4 separate regions of the Homo sapiens genome follow, and regions 1, 2 and 3 are each linked to region 4. The links are contacts of gene promoters, found by promoter capture Hi-C in blood cells and fetal thymus (Javierre and others, 2016). All regions are on one chromosome and are shown on one strand. Each heading gives the region's core, a stretch centred on a gene start or on the middle of the fragment in contact. The rest is flanking DNA. Distances are from core to core; before and after follow the strand shown. Region 1 holds the start of TEX38 (testis expressed 38). Region 2 holds the start of FOXD2 (forkhead box D2). Region 3 holds the start of EFCAB14 (EF-hand calcium binding domain 14). Region 4 holds the start of CAMTA1-DT (CAMTA1 divergent transcript).

What was found. Contacts are between HindIII fragments. The CHiCAGO score rates a contact against its expected background, and 5 or more counts as called.
Region 1: the fragment with the promoter of TEX38 here is called in contact with the fragment with the promoter of CAMTA1-DT in region 4 in 1 of 17 cell types (non-activated CD4 T cells); the score reaches 8.4 in non-activated CD4 T cells.
Region 2: the fragment with the promoter of FOXD2 here is called in contact with the fragment with the promoter of CAMTA1-DT in region 4 in 1 of 17 cell types (total CD4 T cells); the score reaches 5.3 in total CD4 T cells.
Region 3: a contact is called between the fragment with the promoter of EFCAB14 here and the fragment with the promoter of CAMTA1-DT in region 4, in 1 of 17 cell types (total CD4 T cells). The highest score is 11.0, in total CD4 T cells.

What each region holds. Positions count from the first base shown.
Region 1 is chr1:46,669,781-46,673,521 of GRCh38, forward strand. TEX38 (testis expressed 38) reads left to right here and starts at 2,074. Exons shown (of 2, transcript NM_001145474.4): 1 at 2,074-2,191; 2 at 3,093-3,741. The coding sequence starts at 2,155. The coding sequence ends at 3,676. The HindIII fragment of the contact is 3,767 bases long and covers 1,087-3,741 here.
Region 2 is chr1:47,435,787-47,439,317 of GRCh38, forward strand. It overlaps FOXD2 (forkhead box D2), which reads left to right and starts at 2,258. Exons shown (of 1, transcript NM_004474.4): 1 at 2,258-3,531. The coding sequence starts at 2,350. LINC01389 (long intergenic non-protein coding RNA 1389) reads right to left here and starts at 1,531. Exons shown (of 5, transcript NR_126355.1): 1 at 1,504-1,531. RefSeq lists silencers at 738-897, 1,378-2,277, 2,308-2,487. The HindIII fragment of the contact is 12,776 bases long and covers 72-3,531 here.
Region 3 is chr1:46,716,625-46,720,391 of GRCh38, forward strand. It overlaps EFCAB14 (EF-hand calcium binding domain 14), which reads right to left and starts at 2,490. Exons shown (of 11, transcript NM_014774.3): 1 at 1,279-2,490. The coding sequence starts at 1,463. RefSeq lists silencers at 2,295-2,344, 2,665-2,714. The HindIII fragment of the contact is 11,051 bases long and covers 970-3,767 here.
Region 4 is chr1:6,783,532-6,787,056 of GRCh38, forward strand. It overlaps CAMTA1-DT (CAMTA1 divergent transcript), which reads right to left and starts at 1,449. Exons shown (of 3, transcript NR_149049.1): 1 at 1,127-1,449; 2 at 618-692; 3 at 361-514. CAMTA1 (calmodulin binding transcription activator 1) reads left to right here and starts at 1,923. Exons shown (of 23, transcript NM_015215.4): 1 at 1,923-2,044. The coding sequence starts at 2,000. RefSeq lists enhancers at 289-965, 966-1,640 and silencers at 766-825, 906-965, 1,096-1,505, 1,846-2,005, 2,216-2,485 and 1 more. The HindIII fragment of the contact is 4,377 bases long and covers 1-1,674 here.

The DNA.
Region 1 (3,741 bases), core at 824-3,323, about 40 Mb after region 4:
AAACAGCAAGTGCAAAGGCCCTGATGAGGAGGTTATTGAGTCTGAATGAGTGAGGGCACAGCAGCAGAAATGAGACCAAGAAGGTATAGGGAGGGCTAGTTAGATTGCTTAGGCCTTGGTTAAGGACTTTGATTTTAAATCGAATGAGATCGGAAGTTACTATATGTTTTAAGCAGTGGAGTAACATGATCTACTTTTTAAAAGGATCATGCTGGCTGCTGGTGGGATTTAGGATATGTGGAGGCAAGGATGGAAACTCTCCCAAGGGTGACTAATTTATTCCAGTTTGCCTAGGACTTTCTTGGCTCTAGCATTGAAAGCCCCATGTCCTGAGAACCCACCCCAAGTCCTGGGCAAACCAGGATGTTGGTCACCCTACAGGGAACAGTAATCCAAGTGAGAGATGGTGGTACTTGGACTAAAGTGATAGTGATAAAAAAAAGTGGCCAGATTTTGGTTATATTTTGAAATAAAAGCCTAAAGATCTTGCTGATGGAGTCAGTGTGGGTGTGATAGAATGAAAGGAGTCAAGGATGACTTGCAGGTTTTTGGCCTGAACAACCCGAAGGACAGAGATACTACTTATGAAGAGGAGGAAGGCTGTAGGTAGGGTAGACTTTGGAGGATGGATAATCAGAGTTTGGTTTTGGACATGTTGGTTTGGGATAATTTAACAGACTGGCAAGGAGGGATGTCAACCAGGTATTTGGGTATGAGTCTAAAGTTCTGAGGAGCATTCCAGGCTGGAGAGATACAGTTGCGTACTGTCAGTGTATAGTGATATTTAAAGCCAGGGGTCTGGGTGAGATAACTGATGGAATGAATGTAGATAGAGCACTAAGAACTGAGCCCTAGACATGCCTACATTTAGAGATCAGGGGAAAAGGGAGAAACCAGCAAAGGAGACTGGAAAGTAGGGGCCAGTGATATACGAGGAGAACAAGGGTAAGTGGACCCTGGAGAGAATTCTGTGCTAAATAGTTCCCTAAGTCACACATTGGAGGACTATAAAGAGGGGAGTCATTAAAATGGTGCTAAGAAGCTGAGCTACAAGCAGTGGTGCAACATACTGGGAAGGCTGACTTAAGCTTAATTAGGGAAGGGCTTTCTAACTGAGCTGCCCATAAATGCATCAAGCTGCCTCAGGAGGTGGTGAGCAAGTTCCTGACTCAAGTGAGTCTTGAGTCCAGGGAGATTAGTTGCTGTGTGGGGAAAAATCTACCCCCAGGAGTCAAGCATGGCCCTGATGGTGGGATCAGATGGTGGAGATGAACTAGACAACTCTCAAAGTTTCTTCAAATTGGCGATGATATGATTCTGGGCAGTCTGTCACAGAGTAGGGGGGCTGAGCTGAGTCTTGAAGGATGAGCAGGTGTTCAGTGGTGGAAAAGTGGGCAGGGGCACTCCTGGGTGAAGGAGCAGCATGGGCACACCTCCAGAGATGTGAATGAGCAGGGTCTGTTCAGGAGTACGGACTAGGCAAAAGGGAAAAGTGTGTGGAGGACGAGGAGGGAAGTAAGGCTGGAAGTAGATGCAGGCCAGATGGTGGGAAGCCCCACAGGGCCTGGGGCCTGGGAAACACTTGTCAGCACTTGAAGGAAGGTAATTAAATAAAAGACAGATTGTTGGAGCCAAAGAAGGAGGTATTGACCACTTGGTTCCCTTGAGCAGGTTTCTTCCTGCCAACTTGGTTAGATACTTTTTGAGAACAGGGCTGCCCAATGCTGTGTGTTCCTTGTTACATTCCTCACTGGGGACAGGTATCCCATCAACCGTTCCCTAAAGACCAGCAACATCCGTAAGTACCTGAGGGACAATGGCCCTTTTCTGGGGTCTGCTCTGTGGGTTCACCATAAGGGGTAGGTACAGACAATTCAATAGGTGAACCAGTCTCTGATGGAAGTAGTAGTGACATTCCACCCAAAAAATGCCACTGGATGAAGTCCCCTCCTTCCATTAACCCAGGACCACTTCACAAGCACTGCCCCTAGAATGCCCAATTCTCAGAACCCAGTGACCTCTCCTTTAGAGAACAAAGGGCCTGGGCATTCTGGAGACTCTGATTGGCTGGGCAGATGGGCTGACTGGCTGGGCAGATGGGTGGGTGAGTTCCCTCTCCCCAGAGCCATCGGCCAGGTACCAAAGCTCAGCTGTATGGATTCCCAACAGGAGGACCTGCGCTTCCCTGGGAGTAAGTGCTCCTCCAGTCCCTGTCACTGGACTTGTGCCTTAGGGCTTGGGGACAAACACTCAGGGAAGGCCCTTTGCATGGATGGGACAGTGCCTGGCTGCCTGGAGGAGAGCTAAGCAGTTAGGAGATAGTCTACTCTAGAAAACTAAGAATTATTTTAAGGCAAAGACCATGCTCTGATCAACCAGAGAAGATACTATCAATAGCCCAGGACTATCACAGCTGAATGGAATGGGATGGGACATTGGTGTCTCTGTCAACTGATGAACTTTCACTTTTTTTTTTTTTTTTGAGATGAAGTTTTGCTCTGTTGCCCCGGCTGGAGTGCAGTGGCTCAATCTAGGCTCACTGTAACCTCCACCTCCTGGATTCAAGTGATTCTCCTGCCTCAGCCTCTGAAGTAGCTGGGACTGCAGGCATGCACCACCACACCTGGCTAATTTTAAAATTTTTAGTAGAGACGGGGTTTCACCATGTTGGCCAGGCTGGACTTGAAGTCCTGACCTCAAGTGATCTGCCCACCTGGGCCTCACAAAGTGCTGGTGAACTTTTGCTTCTTGATGGACTTGCCCATAGTGAAACTTCTCAGTCTGATGGATTGGATGGGTCCTGGGTTAGGAATCAGAGGCTTGACTGAGCCTGGGCAGCACATGCCCCCGCTAGACCTAGCTTTTGTGATCTGTAAAGAGTTAAAGGTGGTGCTTAAGCTCCCTGGAAATCTAGCTTTGACTGAATAAGGGAATGATGAGGCAAGTCAATAAGGGAGGGAAGGAACGGTGAGAGTAGTTAAGTGGATGGAGCGATTGATGCATGGGTTAAGTGAAAGAGGAATGAGAAACAGCTCAGGCCCCAAGCTACAGCTATCAGCCAGCATGCCTCTTTTTCTTTCTTGCTGCCTTAGTGTGGGTCTCATTGTACTTTGGAATCCTGGGGCTGTGTTCTGTGATAACTGGAGGGTGCATTATCTTTCTGCACTGGAGGAAGAACTTGAGGCGGGAAGAGCATGCCCAGCAGTGGGTGGAGGTGATGAGAGCTGCCACATTCACCTACAGCCCATTGTTGTACTGGATTAACAAGCGACGGCGCTACGGCATGAATGCAGCCATCAACACGGGCCCTGCCCCTGCTGTCACCAAGACTGAGACTGAGGTCCAGAATCCAGATGTTCTGTGGGATTTGGACATCCCCGAAGGCAGGAGCCATGCTGACCAAGACAGCAACCCCAAGGCGGAAGCCCCTGCTCCCCTGCAACCTGCACTGCAGCTGGCTCCACAGCAGCCCCAGGCCAGATCCCCATTCCCACTTCCCATCTTTCAGGAGGTGCCCTTTGCCCCACCCTTGTGCAACCTACCCCCCCTGCTGAACCACTCTGTCTCCTATCCTTTGGCCACCTGTCCTGAAAGGAATGTTCTCTTCCATTCCCTCCTGAATCTGGCCCAGGAAGACCATAGCTTCAATGCCAAGCCTTTTCCTTCAGAACTGTAGCCTCCTCTCACTGAAGGTGGGAGCTGCAGGAATCAGGTGCAGAGTAGGAAATGGAACTAACCTCA
Region 2 (3,531 bases), core at 1,008-3,507, about 41 Mb after region 4:
GTTGCCAGATAAAATAAATCTGCTAAATCTAGCAACCCTAGGTATGTGAGTTTCCTTGGACTCATGCAAGAAGCTTCTCTCCAAGACCTTTTTCCCCGGACAGTCTGTCACCCAGGAAATTCCAATTCCAGGGCTACTAGTCCCTGTCCAATTTGCTGTCCATGGTTTGAGGACGAGATTTCTCTTTTTTCCAATGACAGTTTATGCTGGAACAGCACATTAAATGGATCCCCTTGGTCAGAGGTCCCAGAGGGGGCCCAGGCGACTTCCTCTCAAAGGACATGAGTAGTCAGACCTGCCTTCCATTTTTTTCTGCCCTTACCTTGGGGGGATGAAGAACTCTATTTTGAGGATTCTGTGAAAAGGGTTGCAACCCAACTCTGTTCTATTTCTTTGCAGGAGCCTGGGTGAGTTCTTTCTCCCTATCCTGGGCCTCTGTAGCTCCATCTGTGGAATGGGAGAGTTGGATTAACACCAGGCTATCCCGTAGATTGGAGGCTGCTGTTAGATGAAACTGCAAAGTGTTCTCAGTACCCTTTCCTAAATGGCCTAGAATATGGCTACACTTATACATCAGTTCTGAGGTAGGTGTTACTAGCCTCATTTTTACAAAGGCAGAAACAAAGCGCAAAGAACCTTGCCCAAGGTGACAGATAGGGTAAGTAGTGAAGGCAGGATTGGAACCCCAGGAGCCTGACTTAAGGTCGCTGCTCTTAACTACTATGCAGACCAGGAAACTGAGGCTCCGAAGCGGGGAAGTCACCTAATGAGGGTCACACAGCCTTGCTACAGCGGAGGCAGCTGGGATTCCGGCCTCGCACGCCCGAGCTTTAGCCACTGTGCGGCGCTGTCGGGGCAGCAGCCCAGGCATCCGCTCAGTTCCTGCTCACGTCCAGCGCCCATCTCCCCTTCCGTGCCCCAGAGGCTGAAATGGGCCCAATCTGTGTTGAAGCTGCTTGTTTCTGGGTCCTGGAGGGAGGCCGGGGGAGAAAGAGGTCTAATAGGATGGGCAGGAACCCGGCTAGCGAGAAACAAGGCACAGGGCCAACCTTAGTTGCACAAGACTTTTGAGAGATGAAGGCAACACTTGGTGGAGGTCAGGGTTCACTGAGGGGGTGTCGGGCAGGGGGCGGAGGAGGTCCTGCCGCCTGTCGGTGGGGCCCAGAACCCTGGGAGCCAGGAAGGTGGGGGGTGTCCAGTCCTCAGGGCAACTGGGGCCAGGGAGAGGGGAGGGAGAAATTAAGCGGATTCCCAGACCCATGAACAGACATCCAGACAAATGCCGTTTCCACAGAGACTCACGGAGAGTGAGATAGTCACAGAGACTGAGACAAACGGATGCCGAGATCCAGAGGGTCGGAGAACAGGCAAACTCGGAGCAGTAGACCGGCCCGCGCCCCGGGAACGCGGCCACAGCGGCCGGCGCTCTGCCCGGCCTCTCCGCGCGGAGAGGGGTGGCGGGCCCGACAGCGGAGGGAGGAGAGGGCGCCGCCGCAATCTCACCTCTCCCAGGCCCAAGGCTGCGGGCGCCAAGTTCGCTCCTGGTGATCACTCGAATGCGTCTCCCCTCGGGCTGGAAGCCGTGCGGGCTCGGGTGGGCGCCGGCGGGCCGCGCTGGGGCGGCGTGGGTCCCGGCGTCTCAGCCTCGCGCTCCCACTGCGCTTCGGCCCGGTGGCCCGGGCGCCGCCTTGGGGAGAGGACGGGTGGGGACCGCCGCCACTTCCCTGGCTGCGGCTGGCGCCCGAGTGAGCCTTAACATCCAGGGGCTGAGCGTTCTGAAGGCGGCGGCTTCAGGGAGCACAGGGTGCAGGAGCGGCGGCGAAGACAAGGGCCCGCCTCCGGCCACTCGAGCCCAGCTCCCGCCGCGGCGGCGGTTTGTTCCCGCCGGGTCCCTCAGCGGAGGCGCTACGCCCGCCCCTGTCGCCTCGCCCCACCCCGCCCAGGGAGCTCCGCCCTAGCCCGCAGCTCTTCCGCCTTAGGCAGCCGCTAGGCGGGAGGGACAATCCCCCACCACCAACCACTGCCACCCCGAGGGGACTAGGGGCTGAGGCCCGCCCAGGTAAGGGAAAGCCTCAGCTCCTTCCGTTGCGCCCCAGCGGCGGGTCCCAGCTCGGATTCCCGGGGTAGTGGCGGGGGCCGCCGGCGGGTCGTGCCCTGGAAGGTGAGCGCGGCCGAGCTGGGCCGCCAGGGGGCGCTGCGGAGCCGGGGGACACCCCTCCCTGCCTGCCTCAGTCCCCCGCCCCCTCCCCGCCCGCGCGCAAAACGCACTCGCCCCAGAGGCAGCGCGGCCGAGCCCGAGCCGCTGCCGGAGCGGAGCCGGAGAGTGGCGGCGGCGGCGGCAGCGGCACCATGACCCTGGGCAGCTGCTGCTGCGAGATCATGTCCTCCGAGAGCTCCCCGGCCGCGCTGTCCGAGGCCGACGCAGACATAGACGTGGTGGGCGGCGGCAGCGGCGGGGGGGAGCTCCCAGCTCGCTCCGGGCCCCGCGCCCCCCGGGACGTGCTCCCCCACGGCCACGAGCCTCCCGCGGAGGAAGCCGAGGCAGACTTAGCCGAGGACGAGGAGGAGTCTGGTGGCTGCTCGGACGGCGAGCCCCGCGCTCTGGCGTCCCGGGGGGCGGCGGCCGCAGCGGGGAGCCCGGGGCCAGGCGCCGCGGCGGCCCGCGGCGCAGCGGGGCCCGGGCCGGGACCGCCGTCGGGGGGCGCGGCGACGCGGAGCCCGCTGGTGAAGCCGCCCTACTCGTACATCGCGCTCATCACCATGGCCATCCTGCAGAGCCCCAAGAAGCGGCTGACGTTGAGCGAGATCTGCGAGTTCATCAGCGGCCGCTTCCCCTACTACCGGGAGAAGTTCCCCGCCTGGCAGAACAGCATCCGCCACAACCTCTCTCTCAACGACTGCTTCGTCAAGATCCCCCGCGAGCCGGGCAACCCGGGCAAGGGCAACTACTGGACGCTGGACCCGGAGTCGGCCGACATGTTCGACAACGGCAGCTTCCTGCGGCGTCGCAAGCGCTTCAAGCGGCAGCCCCTGCCGCCGCCGCACCCACACCCGCACCCTCACCCGGAGCTGCTGCTGCGTGGCGGGGCCGCGGCGGCGGGGGATCCCGGCGCTTTCCTGCCCGGCTTCGCTGCCTACGGCGCCTACGGCTACGGCTACGGGCTGGCTCTCCCGGCCTACGGCGCACCCCCGCCGGGGCCGGCCCCGCATCCGCACCCGCACCCGCACGCCTTCGCTTTCGCCGCGGCAGCCGCCGCCGCTCCTTGCCAGCTGTCGGTACCCCCAGGCCGCGCCGCCGCGCCTCCACCCGGACCTCCGACGGCCTCGGTGTTCGCAGGCGCGGGATCGGCCCCAGCTCCTGCGCCTGCCTCAGGCTCGGGCCCGGGCCCGGGCCCCGCAGGCCTGCCCGCCTTCCTGGGCGCGGAGCTGGGCTGCGCCAAAGCCTTCTACGCGGCGTCCCTGAGTCCTCCCGCAGCCGGCACCGCGGCGGGTCTGCCCACCGCACTTCTGCGCCAGGGCCTCAAGACGGAC
Region 3 (3,767 bases), core at 1,240-3,739, about 40 Mb after region 4:
ACTGGATACAAAGGTTTCAAATGTCACATAAAACAGAAGGAGTTCCTGCAGGTAAAAGGAAGAACCTAAAGGCACTGCAGCTGTCATTATCAGGAGGGAGGTCTTTGAATACAAGCTCAGGTCACAAAAGTGTAAAGACCAATGTTTCTCTGCAATTCCATCTCTGCACTGGAATTTGCCTATTGATTTCTCTCTGAAATACATACTCACTCCGGGGAACCTTGCTCCAGTTTACTGAAACTTTATAAACTTTTGAGCAAGTTTTACTGCAAAAGAAATGAAAGAAACAGGATCTGTAGTTTTAAGTGGACACCTGGTGTATTCTAGCTTATTGGCTCAGAAGTAAGGAAACATAGAAGGGGCTGGATTTCACACAAAACATCAACCAACCTTCAAGGTCTAAACTAACTTAGTAGGGTTACTACTCCAGGTACCTTCTGATGAAGGTAACACTTCAACTGATCTTCATAACCCAAACCCAGGATTGCCCTTAACAGCCTTAGCTGACAAAGCTCATTAGAAATCAAACTCTTCCTTTAACAAAACAAGACATTTTAAACCAACCAACCACTCAATGTCAGCACCCCGACCTTCTGCCTAGCCATTGTTTCTACATCCTCAGCAGAATCCTCTTTTCTTTTAGTGTGCTCTGAGAGAGTCAAAGGACGTTTTTGAAGTTCCCTTTAGTCCTTTCCCATCCTGAGCCCCAATCCCAATGTCCTCAAATCTTACTACTTGATTTGCCTAGTGGTCTCTCCACCTATGAATGGCTAGGGAAAATGATGCCTCTTCTTTTGCCCCCCGACCCCACCTACTCTCAAGGCTCATACTTCCTACAGTATATCTCTCACCATATTTCCCCACCACCAATATTCAGACTCATCAAGAGTGCAAAAACGAAATAATCTGCAGTCTTAAAGTCTCTGCTTCTCCTTTGTTCTACACTGTTTTAAAAAGTCTAGTCCCCAAAGCTTCTCTGCTCCTCTGTCTCCATTCTTTGCTTCTTTAGGACTCCCTGGGCTCTTGGCACATTCTCCAAGTCCACATTTCCACCTCAGATTTGGAGCTTTTCTTTCTACACCTAAAGACAGATCTCTAACTTATTCTTCATTCAGGATCTGAACTTACCTTCTCCCTAAAACCGTTTTTCCCTCTTTGACTTCCAAGGCCTACACCCTTTTTTCTTCCTAAGGACTTCCTTTCTCCTTCCTGTCAATGTGGCCCCTTGGTAGTGCAAGGAGATGCCTTCTTCCCATTCCACCTTTCACCACTACTCACTTGGCAAAGCGAGAGCGATTTCCAACCACACCGAATTCCTCTTCCTCTTCGGAGCTGGACTCAGAGTCTGAGTCGGGAGGCTCAGTGCGAAGCAGGCGGTGACTGCTTGGGCCTTTCTTGGGCTTCTTTCTCCGGCTGTCCCCAGCCAAACCAATCAATGCATTGAGCTCTTTGCGCTTTTTCATCTTTTTGTGTGGGGTGAGTGGAGCCCCGACTCCTGAGCTGCCAGGTTCGTACCCGATGCCCAATTCTCTTCCTGCCTTGGAGCTGCCTTCCAGGGTTGGGAATCCTGGGCCAGAGCCCCCTGGTCACTCCCACCTAGGGGTGGGACTGACCAGATCCGCCAGGGACTGGAGATTGGAGCCCAGAGGAAACTGGAACTCAGATGGGTGGGGGAAATCACATAGAAATGGCCAAGGAGCTGGTGACCCCAAAGGATAAGGCCTTGGGTGCAGAGTGTTAGTAGAGGGTGGAGAGGGACCTTTATCTCCCAAAGGGCGAAAAAAAAGCCAGGTCAAAAATGAAGGATTCTCAGCCCGGATAAGTAGGCAATACTTCTAAGGGTGCTCCAGGAGGTGAGGAAGGGCACGCTTAAAATACGTGTTTCGGACCTCCGGAGCAAGATTTCCAATGGAGAGGGAAGAGAAACTCGTTCTTGAATGGGAAGAGAGTGGGGAGGTGCAGAGTAAGAAAGTGGGAACGCGTCAGTCCCTTCCTTGCAGGAGAGGTGGCGGCAGGAGGGGGCTCCCAGCAGCTACAATCCCAACACTGCTTGGCCGCAGAGAAAATGCCCTGGCCAGGAAGCCGGCTGGGGTGTGTGATGATCACCGTTCTCCGGCCTCCGTCCTGAACGTGAAGGGGGCCCGAGGCCGAGGAAGATCCGGAGCCCGGCTAGAAGGGTCGGCCTGAGAGAAGCCAGTCCCGCGCCTGATAGACCCCCGCCCCGCTGTCTGGGCCTTGGGGACACGGTGCCGCGGGCGACGGCGGCTCGGCCGACCGAAAGCGCTCCCGCCCGGAGTTTGAGGTCTCCGGCACGGGCAACTCTCGGCCACTCACACGCGCAGGCCCCACTCCAGCCGCGACTCCGGCCCCTGCTCCGGCTTCGGCCGCGGCTGCTCCCGACACGTTGTTGTTGGCGTTGGTGGCGGCGGCTGCGGCGGCGGCGGCCGCGAGCTCCAGCCCCGGGCCATCGCTCCAGCCCCAGATCACTTCCCCTTTGGCAGCGGCCGCCTGCGCCGCCTGCCAGTAAGCCGCACTCCCATTGGTCGCCCGCTGGGGTGACGTCACGCCGGGGCGAAAGTCGTGGCGGAGAGGTGGGGCGTTAAAGGGGCCCTGCCCCGGCTGGGGCTGGGTCCCACCTGCCGATTAGGGTGGCCCCGCCCCCAGGAGGGCTTCCGGGACCTGCTGCGAACCTGAGCCGGGTGGAGTCCTGCATCCTGCGGAGCGCGGGCGGGGCAGGCAAAGCGCCCGGCTGCTCGACCTACTTCGAAAGTTCATCAGCCGCCCACGCCCCCTGGACTAACCAAGTCTGAAGGCTCCGCCTCTCTGACTCTCACACAGGCTGTTAAAAGTTTAGGCGCGTTTCAGATTAATTAACACATTCATTCAGTCAATAAATATTTATTGAGAGCTTACTTACTACGTGTCAGGAGCTGTTCTAGCGCTGGGGATACAGCCATGAACAAAATAACCAGGGTCCTTGTCTTCCTGTATAGTGTTGCCAGATTTAGCAAATAAAAATGTAGGACACCCAGTAAAGTTTGAATTTCAGAGAAACAGCAAACAATTTTTTAGCATTAAGACATCCCATGCAACATCTGGGACATCCTCACACTAAAAAATTATTCATTGTGTATGTGAAATGCAAGTTTAACTGAGCATCGTGTATCTTATCTGCCAATCTATTCCTGCAGTTTATTTATACTCTAGAGGGAGGAGAGCAACAATAGGCAAACATATTAAATGTCAGGAGGTGATAAGTGTTATGATGAAAATTGAAACACGGTCAGGTGATGGGGAGTGCCTCTGTGAAAAGGGAACATTTAGTCAGCTTATCGGAGGAGAGGTGAGGGAATGAGCTGTGCAGTGGCTGCAGGAAGGAGTGACCAGGAAGACCTGTTGTGGCTGGACCAGAAGAGCAAGGAGCAGAGTGATAGGAAATGAGGTCAGAGAAGCATCAGAGGCCAGGGCTTTAGGGCCTTATGGATCACTGAAAGGACTTTGGGAAAGCACTGGGGGCTTTAAGCTGAGAGGTAGCATACTCTGGCTTTTCCGTAAAAAAAAAAAAAAAAAAAAAAATTCACTCTGGGCCAGCGCGATGGCTCACGCCTGTAATCCCAGCATTTTGGGAGGCTGAGGTGGGCGGATCACAAGGTCAGGAGATGGAGACCATCCTGGCCAATATGGTGAAACCTTGTCTCTATTAAAAATACAAAAATTACCTGGGCGTGGTGGTGCGCGCTTGTAATCCCAGCTACTTGGGAGGCTGA
Region 4 (3,525 bases), core at 199-2,698:
TTTTTTGTTGTAGTTAAGTACAGTGATCCTGTGAAGAATACCTTCACACATACAGCTTTTCTGGCATTTAGTGTTATTTCCTTAGAACAGATTCCCAGAAGTAAGATCACTGGGTCAAAAGATGCAGACATTTTTATGGCTTTTAATACATACTGTAAAATTGCTTTTCGAAAGGAATATACTAATTTACAATGCCACCAGCACTTCTTTTAAGAATCCGTTTCTCCACACAAATCGTCAACATAGGTGCTATTAAGAATGCTAATCGATAAAATATTGTCCCGCCGTTGTTAAAATTTTGCAATTTTTGAGGCTCATAAAATTAAAGTTTCTTGAAGAATGAGTGTGTAACACAAAACATTCTTTTGGGACATCTTTATTTCTGGAAAACCTAAGACATTCTTACTTGTGAAGACCAGAAAAAGAACACATGTTGTTAGGATTGGCACAGAATTCAGTGTGACAGTCAATCTTAATGCCAGAACACTTGAACGAGGATTTTTCACTTATTTTGCTAGTTGTCACCAACAGTAGCAAAAGGAAAAATAAAATGCGGAAGAATGAAATGTTCTTACTGCAAACCGTACAAGATCACATTGAGGGGCTGGAGCTCTTACATTCAACTTTTCTTTCCTTTTTCTTCTTTTTAAACAATTTGCGATTGCAGCCTCTCCTTTTGTTTCCGGTATTACCTGCCCAGGAGCAGAATTCCTTACTTTCTCCGGAGAGAGGCCGGTCCCTGGGAGCGCTGCCCAGCCACCCGCACGCCTAGCCGCCCCGAGAGCCGCACTCGGCGGACCCGGTTCCTAGGCTCGTTCCCGGGGCACCTGGCGGGCGCCCACCTCCCGGGGGGCACGTGCTCCCGTACGCAGCGCGAGGGCAGCGGGTGCCTGGCTATTTATTAGGAAAAGCCCCGCGCGGACTCTCCGGATTGAGGAGGGTGGGAAACTCGGCTGCCCAGCGCTCCACCCGGGCGGCCGGGGCTGGCGCTTCTCTGCTTTCGGCCGGCGGCCTCATCCTGGGACAGGCAACCATGAGTCATCCGCTCCGCGGGTCACATGGGCAACGTGACCAAAATAAAGTTTCGGTATTTTAAGCCGCCAGAAAAGGGGACAACGGAGCTCACCGGGGGCGGGCACAGGAGGCGGGCGCAGGCGGGCGGCGCCGGGGCCGTGGGGACGCGGCGCCGAGGGGGCGGGGCCTGGCGGGAGGCTCGCCCCTCCCCCACGGCCGGCAGCGACGCCCGGACTCCTAGGCAGTCGGACTCCAGGGCGCGGCACCCCTGCGGACCTCAGCCCCGAGGCCCCCCGCGTCCGGCTCCCCACCGGCAGCGGCGGCGGGCTGCGGGATCCCGGAGATCCCGGCGCGTCCCCCACAGCCACCGGGACCCCACGCGCCAGCAGCGGCTTCCCCGGGAACGTCCTTCAGCCCCGGGAGCACGCGGGAAAAGCCCCAGCGTGCCAATGAGGGAGCGCCTTCCTCATGACGGTCACGCTCGGGGGCGGGGCTTCCCTTCGCCGCTCCCGAGTTCCGGGAACCCCCTTTGATTGGTCTGGACGGCCTGGGAAACACTGTAGTGACGCCCAATCAAAACGCCACGTCTCGGCCTCGAGGAAATATTCCGTGTCGGGCCCGTCCTGATTGGACAGTTCTTTCGGGTTCTGGCCACTAGGAAGCTTTGTTTAGGTCCGGAAGGCGGGCTTTCCTGGGAGTGGGTGGGGAGGGGGCGTTGATTCTTGACCAATCCTTTCAGTCCGTTGGGTGGTGACCAGCCAATGGGCCGGATGGATAGGACGCTCCTCCCGGAGAGTAGTGAGACCCCTGGTGCGGGGCGATTGGCGGCGGGAGCGATGAGTGGCAGCCGCACGGCCCAACGGGAGCTGTGCGTGGGCCGCGGGGCGGGGCCAGGGCGGGTGCGCGGCGGCGGCGGGGTGGCTGGGCCGGCGGCGGCGGCGGTACGAGGCGCGCGCTCGGGGTCCCGGTCGCGAGGAGGAGGAGGATGTGGCGCGCGGAGGGGAAATGGCTGCCGAAAACAAGCCGGAAGGTAAGAGCCGGAGCGCGAGGGGCTGGGGGGCGGCGCGGCGGGCGGCGGGACCCGGCCCCGCCGGACATCCCGGGCATCGGCGGCGCCGGGCGGGAGCGCGGGGGCGCGGCGGGCGGGCGGGCGGGCGACCCGGCCGGGGAGGGGGCCGGCGGGGTGGGGGGGCGGAGCGCGGCCGAGTCCTGAGGTGACTCGCGGGGCCGGCGGAGCGCGGCGCCCCACACCCCACCCCCGGGGGCGGGCTGGGGCCGGAGGGGGCGGGGGGCTCGCGGGGCGGGGACCGGGCCCAGCGAGGAGGAGGAGCCGGCGGAGGGCCGGCGCCTCCCCCACCCGGACCGGGCATCCCCGCCGCTCCCGAGCCCGCTGCGCGGCCCCCGCACCCCCGGCGCTGGGTCCACGGTGGGGGCCGCGGGGCGGAAAGTTTATCCGCCTCGGGTCCTCCTGGCCCCGCGCCCCACTGCTCCGGGCCGGTCCCCGTCGGGCGGCAGCGGCCGGCGCTCAGCCCTCGCCGGCCCCCTGCTCTCCGGCGGGCAGGGCCAGATGTACTCTCTCCGGCACCCTCTTCAGCCCCGTGGACACCTCCCTGAGCGGGCGGGGGGTCCCCGAGCTTCTCCCCGCCAGGGGGACCCCGTCCTGCCGAGCGTCCCTCGGCCGAAGGGCCTCGTGTGACCCCTCCCCCTTCGCTTCCCGGGAAGGGAAGGGGGCCTGCGCAGCATCCCCGCCCCTCGCAGTCGTTCACATCCTACTCTTGCCCTTGCACCCTCACAGCCAGGAGGGTGGGGTCTCCGTTTCTATGGCAAGTGAGGATCTCCACACTCCCTTGCCCTTTACCTTCCGTGACCCCGATCCTTCCTTGGCACAGGGGTCCGTCTGATCTGCTCATCTTCTTTGGATTCTTTTGGGGCCTCTGCACACTCTCCGTTGACCCTTTTTGCCAGGACAAGGGGACTCAGGCTGCCCATGTTCTTCTTTCCTCACCCAGTGGATAGTGGGGGCTTGTGCAGCTCTGAAGTCATTTCTAAATAGGAAAGCAGACACTTCTTCCAGATCATGCATACTCTTACACTTTGCTGGGTTAGGGCGAGCTCATTTCCTAAATACCCTTTGAGTTGCCCTCCTTTTCTTATGGAGACAACTGGACGTTCACCGTGCTCCTTTCGCCATTTGTGTGTCTACACTGACTTGTTCTCTCTTCTCGGAGTTCCTTGTCTGGGTGAGAGTGGGCGCCCCAATAAGATGTAGGGCAGGGCTTCCATTGTGCCTAGTGCTTGAGTGAAAAGGGGCCACACTAGTTGCTCCTGTGTCTGAGGAAGACCGGGGTATATTTTTGCCTCCACTTGACTCTTGTGTCTCAGGAGGGGGCAACCTTCATCAGTTGACACTACCTCACTGGGAAAAGGGTCATGTGGCCTTGTTTTTTGATGTTTTGATTACTGTCTTCTGTGCAGTGAGAACCAGACTTTGTCCGTCCCACACTCAAGAGT